Regions from separate parts of the Homo sapiens genome. Here region 2 is linked to region 1. The links are contacts of gene promoters, found by promoter capture Hi-C in blood cells and fetal thymus (Javierre and others, 2016). All regions are on one chromosome and are shown on one strand. Each heading gives the region's core, a stretch centred on a gene start or on the middle of the fragment in contact. The rest is flanking DNA. Distances are from core to core; before and after follow the strand shown. Region 1 holds the start of ACTR6 (actin related protein 6). Region 2 overlaps NR2C1 (nuclear receptor subfamily 2 group C member 1).

What was found. The method cuts DNA at HindIII sites, captures the fragments that hold promoters and counts their contacts. A CHiCAGO score of 5 or more calls a contact.
Region 2: a fragment that was not itself captured here is called in contact with the fragment with the promoter of ACTR6 in region 1 in 1 of 17 cell types (non-activated CD4 T cells); the score reaches 6.6 in non-activated CD4 T cells.

Annotation. Positions count from the first base shown.
Region 1 is chr12:100,199,077-100,202,339 of GRCh38, reverse strand. ACTR6 (actin related protein 6) reads right to left here and starts at 1,525. Exons shown (of 11, transcript NM_022496.5): 1 at 1,421-1,525. The coding sequence starts at 1,488. RefSeq lists enhancers at 1-417, 1,262-1,461, 1,435-1,729 and a silencer at 2,222-2,581. The HindIII fragment of the contact is 11,223 bases long and covers 1-3,263 here.
Region 2 is chr12:95,066,196-95,069,458 of GRCh38, reverse strand. NR2C1 (nuclear receptor subfamily 2 group C member 1) reads left to right here. Exons shown (of 14, transcript NM_003297.4): 2 at 2,068-2,128. The coding sequence starts at 2,075. Among named protein-coding and RNA genes, the nearest start is that of NR2C1, 5.8 kb to the left of the region's middle. The HindIII fragment of the contact is 9,664 bases long and covers 1-3,263 here.

The DNA.
Region 1 (3,263 bases), core at 276-2,775:
TGATTATTTAGCTTCCTTCCCATTTTTTGGCTGCCTGTATACGATGACTATGAATAATACAAAGCACTTCTAATTAATTCTCTAGGTAATAACAGAATTGCTGTGTCATGGCCCGGTGCGGTGGCTCACACCTGTAATCCCAGCACTTTAGGAGGCTGAAGCAGGCAGATCACGAGGTCAGGAATTCCAGACCAGCATGGCCAAAATGGTGAAACCCCCGTCTCTACTAAAAATACAAAACTTAGCCAGGCGTGGTGGTGCGCAACTGTAGTCCCAGCTACTTGGGAGGCTGAGGCATGAGAATGGCTTGAACCCGGGAGGCAGAGGTTGCAGCGAGCCGAGATCGTGCCACTGCACTCCAGCCTGGACAAGAGAGCCAGACTCCCTCTCCAAAAAAAAAAAAAAAAATTGCTTTGTCAGCTGGGTGTAGGGCTCACGCCCCTAATACCAGCACTTTGGGAGGCCAACGCGGGTAGACTGCTTGAGGCCAGGGGCTCGAGACCGGCCTGGCCAACATGATGAAACCCCGTCTCTAACAAAAATACAAAAAATTCGCTGGGAGTGGTGGTGCACGCCTATAATCCCAGCTACTCTGGAGGCTGAGGCGGGAGAATCACTTGAATTCAGGCTGCAGTGAGCTGAGATCGCACCACGGCACTCCAGCCTCGGTGACAATGATAATGATACACATTGCCAAAACGTTTTCCAGAAAGATTGTAACAATTTACATTCCTACTCAGTTTGATTTCCCTCTTTCATTTCTGTTTCAAAAGAAATGAAAAAGAAGGAAAGGAGGGAGGAAGGAAAGAATTTTTTTTAATGCTCTGTTAATTTGATAAAGGAAAGGCGTGTCTTTAGGTTTGCTTATTTATTCAAACATATATTTTATGACTATACATGTTATGAATGCCATTGTATTAACAGTACTTCTGTTTAATTGACCTTACCAACTAGGTCGGCCAGTAGGCCAAAGTCTTCAAAGCCTCTAGATCCTAAGACCGTGATTTTTAGACTTTTGGAGGGTCATAGAACCCTTTGAGAATCTAATGAAACCTATAATCTTGTACCCAGGAAAATCCGCATACACCCAAACACCGTGCCCATAGTTTCCAAAGGCTGATGAACTTTACGGACCCTTCTGTCAGGAACGCATCTCTATAAGCCTATTTTCTTTGGCTATTTCCTGTTACGAAATAAAACATATATCCCACTTCCGGGGCCTCGCAGCCCAAAACTAAAACCAAAATCAATTTCAATTCAAAGCATCACAATCACCCACCCAGCTCCAACCAGGGAATCCCTCTGGCTAAGTCAGGGCCGCGCGGGGGTGTCTGCAGTTCATTGATGTCCGGAGATGAAACGTAGCACATGAAACCACTAGGCGTATATATCTTGTCCCTCGGAGAAAGAAAGTACTTACGACACATTTTCATGGCTGTAACCGATTTTGGCGTTGTAAGCTCCATTATCCAGCACTAAGGTCGTCATCTCACCACCAACCACACCGCAGCCGTAGTTGTTTTCCCTTTCCGACCCCTCTGCTCGAGCTTTTTCCGGTACTCTATGGTTTGTTGGGCGGAGCGTTAGGACGCGCCTCTGGTCACCTTAGCAACGGAGGACGCCGGAAGTCGGAGATGCTAAGCAGCACCGAATGTTAGGGGCTGTGCTTCCAAACTTAACCTGTTTATGTGGTGGCGAGATTTGACTACTATGTGCTTTCTCGCTCATTTCGTATTTGTTTTTAACTACGCAGATTAATTCGCGCAAGTTTTTTCTAATCCTGTAGAGAACCGGCTGCGTGTGTGTGTGTGTGTGTGTGTGTGTGTGTGTCTTCCAATCGCATTCTTCAGACGGTGACATTCTTTGAAGAAAAAAGTGCAAAACTTGCTCTTGGACTCACATTCATACTCTCCTCTTCCCCAGCCCACTTGCTCTTCAGGACGAAGCTGAGTGAGTCTTTCTCATCCAAAAAAGGCTTTTGGGCCGGACGCGGTGGCTCACGCCTGTAATCCCAGCACTTTAGGAGACCAAGGCAAGCAGATCACTTGAGGTCAGGAGCTTGAGACCAGCCTGACCAACACGGCGAAACCCCGTCTCTATTAAAAATACAAAAAGTAGCCGGGCGAGGTGGCGGGCGCCTGTAATCCCAAGTACTCGGGAGGCTGAGGCGGGAGAATTGCTTGAACCGGGGAGGCGGAGGTTGCAGTGAGCCGAGATGGCTCCACTACACTCCAGCCTGGGCGACAGAGCGAGACTCCGGCAGGGCGGGGACTTGGCAGGTGCGGGAGGCAGGACCTGGCTTCCGGGGCGTCGCGGGGGCAACGGCCAGCGGGCGGGGGCAAGGGCCAGCGGGCTAGGACAACTGCCAACGGGCTTGGAGGGGGGCGTTCTACAAATTCCAGGCCACTTTGAGCGCCTGAGAGAGGAGCGGGGCGGCGGGAAGGGGGCACCGCGGGGGCAGGGAGCGCAGCAGCCGCAGCGCGAAGGCGCGGGGGCCGGGGAACAAACGGTTGGCGCGCAGGCAGCCATACCGGGGCCGGAACCCGGGCAGAGGAGGGCAGCGACGGCGATGGGGAGGCTGCAGAGCCCGGGGCGGGTACCGCGCGGGAACCAGCGCGACTGCGTGGCTACCGCAGCCGTCGGTTCGTGTTGGACGGGCGCCGCTGCTGCCTCTGCTACTTCAAGAACCCCCACGACCCGCTGCCCCTCGGCCACCTGGACATAGCAGAAGCCTGCTTCAGCTACCAGCGCGCCGACGAGGCGGCGGAGCAGCCTGCGCACTTCCAGGTGCGCAGCGCGGGAGCCGCCACGGTGCTTGAGGTGGGAACTCGCGCCCTGCAAGCGCCTGGGCCCTTCTGTCGGCGCTCCTTGCCTCCCCTGGGGGCCTGCCCCATCCACCCTCCTTTCTCCAAGGCCTCCTCGCACCCTGCCAACGTCGGCCTGCCTTTCCCCACTTCTCCACATCCCGTCCTCGTTCCTATCTCCTCCCCTCCACCTGGGCTTAGGCCCGGGTGGCTGGGGCTACCCAGCCCAGTCTCCTTCCTCAGACACTTTGACCCATTATCTCCCTCTGCTCCTTCCCTCTGACCCCTCTCTAGTGTCTTCTCACCCCCAGCATCCCGTGGATGTCCGGTGCAGCCCTCCCAAGCATTCATAACCGTAGGCTTCTGCCCCAGGGGCCTCCTTTAGAACTCTGCTAGGACCTTGGTACATCAGTTAACCGCTCTGCCCTTCAGCGTCCTCTAAAATGAGATAGCAGTAGT
Region 2 (3,263 bases), core at 303-2,802, 5.1 Mb after region 1:
TTTTAACACAGTAGTATTTATGTAAGTAACAAATCTAAACGTGGAAGAGGTGTAGTAAAAATACAGTGTTATGGGTGTAAACTTGTGGTACCGCTATTGTATATGCAGTCTCATTCATTGACTAAAACATTGTGCAGTACATGACTATATATTGATCTAATGAGTCCCTGGAATTCATTCAGATAAACAAATAGTTTATCTCCCTAAGTTTTCATTAGGAGGTGACTTCTTTGAGTCTAATGCACCAATACACTGGTGTTGATTTTAGGATTTCTGGAAGAGATTTCTTATTTGTTTATTACTTTAATTTTTGTGGTAATCCTTGTATTTAAGCAAAATTTAAAAGCATCAAACACTTATTCAATGAAAAATAAGTCTCCCTTCCATTCCTGTTTCCAAACTTGCAGTTTCTTTCCTTGGAGGTACTTATTGGATCCATTTTCTTTCTTATGTGTCCTTTTAAGATGTAGTTTTTCTTTTTCTTTTTTTTTCTTTTGAGACAGAGTCTCTCTCTGTCACCCAGGCTGGAGTGCAGTGGCACGATCTTGGCTCACCACAGCCTCTGCCTTCCAAGTTTATGGGATTCTTCTGCCTCAGTCTCCTGAGTAGCTGGGATTACGGGCACCCGCCACCATGCCTGGCTAATTTTTTTTTTTTTTTTTATGAGACAGAATTTCACTCTTGTGGCCCAGACTGGAGTGCAATGGTGCAATCTCGGCTCACCGCAACCTCCGCCTCCCAGGTTCAAGTAATTCTACTGCCTCAGCCTCCTGAGTAGCTGGGATTACAGGCATGTACCACCACACCTGGCTAATTTTGTATTTTTAGTAGAGATGGCGTTTCACCATGTTGGCCAGGCTAGTCTCAAACTCCTGATCTCCGGTAATCAGCCCACCTTGGCCTCCCATAGTGCTAGGAATACAGATGTGAGCCACCGGGGCCGGTCCAAGTGTAGATTTTCTTGTCTTTAGGCAGCATTTTAAAGTTTTATTTGCCTACCTAGATCTTGCATGTTCCTTATTGGGTTTATGCCTGAGTGTTATGGGCTGAATTCGGTTCTCCCACAAAATCATATGAATCCCAAATTCCTATGGTGATGTCCTGACCACCAGTACCTCAGAATTGAGTATATTGGAGATAAGGCCTTAAAAGAGATAATTGAGTTAAAATTAGTTCATTAGAGTGTACCGTAATCCAAAATAACTGATGTCCTTCTATGAAGAGGACACAGACACTCAGAGGGAAGACCGTATAAACATATAAAGATACATGGAGGGCTGGGGCCGGGTGCAGTGGCTCACGCCTGTAATCCCAGCACTTTGGGAGGCCGAGGCAGGCAGATCACGAGGTCAGGAGATCAAGGCCATCCTGGCTAACACAGTGAAACCCTGTCTCTACTAAAAATACAAAAAAATTAGCTGGCGTGGTGGCAGGTGCCTAGTCCCAGCTACTTGGGAGGCTGAGGCAGGAGAATGGCATGAACCCAGGAAGTGGAGCTTGCAGTGAGCCAAGATCATGCCACTGCACTCCAACCTGGGTGACAGAGCAAGACTCCATCTCAAAAAAAAAAAAAAAAAAAAGATACATGGAGGGGTGGGCATGGTGGCTTATGCTGATAATTCCAATACCAACACTTGGGAGGTCGAGACAGGAAGATTGCTTGAGCCCAGGAGTTTGAGGCCAGCCTGGGCAACACAGTGAGACCCCATCTGTACAAAAAATAAAAAATTAGCCAGGTGTGGTGGTGTATACCTGTAGTTCCAGCTACTCAGGAGGCTGAGGTGGGAGGATCACTTGAGCCCAGGAGGTTGAGACTGCAGTGAGCCGTGATGGTGCCCCCTACACTCCAGCCTGGGTGGGCCTTGTTTTAAAAAAAAAAAAAATAAAAAAGACACATGGAAAAGGCAACCCATGAATGGAAAAAAGAAACTTCAGAAAAAGCCAACCCTCCCACCTTAACTAGATTATTTTGAAGCAAATCTTAAATATCATATAGTTTTATTTGTAAATTATTTAATAAGAGTGTTTTGTGAGTTTAATTATAAAACATCTTTTTATTTTTGGCAGGTAGATCATGGCAACCATAGAAGAAATTGCACATCAAATTATTGAACAACAGATGGGAGAGGTATGTCTAGTTTACGGTTGATGCACTGGCCCACCAAACTTTTCTAATTCCTACTAAATGCATATACCAGGTTCTGGAGTTCCAGAAATAAAAGATATTCCCTAACTTAAGATAGCTTTTCAAGCTACTGAGAGATAGTTGAATAATCAGACAATTCATAGTAGAATGTGGTAAGTTCTGTGACAGGTCATTGTATCAGGTGCAATGGGAGCACAGAAGAAAATTGAAAGGAATGAAGGGAAGGAAGGAAGGAAAGAAATTAAAGAGCTGTAGAGTGAGTAGGAATGCTTTTGAGGGAATTCTTTTTAGAGGGTACAATCTGAGCCTAGTTTTGGTGGGATCAGTAGGAGTTCAGCATCAATACTGACATCTTCATTTTTTTAAATGGTTGTGTCCTATTACTTAGTAAGAGATACCACATAATTTGGAAGTTCTCAAAGTATTATCTGGGGACACTTCAGAGAATCAACCAGGTGAAGACCATTTTTATAATAATACTGAAATGTTATTTGCCTTTTCAGTATTGTTCTCTCCCAGGTATACAATGGAATTTTCTACAGACTGTGTGACATGTGATGATACTATATGATGAAATGTGTCAGCATTTATAAGGTGTACATAACTCAATGAATCATTGCTTTCCGGATGACCAGTGTATAATGTTACAAAATTATGCATGAGTGAAGGATCCATTTAAATTGCAGGATAGACCAACAGATTTTAATATAGTTTATGACTCTACATTGCTGCTAACCTTTGAAAAGCTGCCACTTGTTGAGTTGATGTAGTGTCGAACAACTTTCACAGTTTGAAAAGGGTATTAAAATATCCTTCCCCTTTTCAACCAATAAATACGAAGCTGAATTTTCTTTAACATATATACATATATGTATGTATGTATATGTATATATATGGTGAAGAAATAGGTTTCCGGCTGATTTTTTGTGGCCATTTTTTGTGCTCACGTGCCTGGCTGATGTTTTATATATTTTGTAGCAACAGGGTTTTGTCATGTTGCCCAGGCTGGTCTGGAGCTCCTGGGCTCAAGCAGTTCACTGGCCTTGGCCTTCCAAAGCGCTGGGATTACAGGCGTGAGGTGCTGTGCCCAGCCTTGTTATAACCAAAACAACATAGT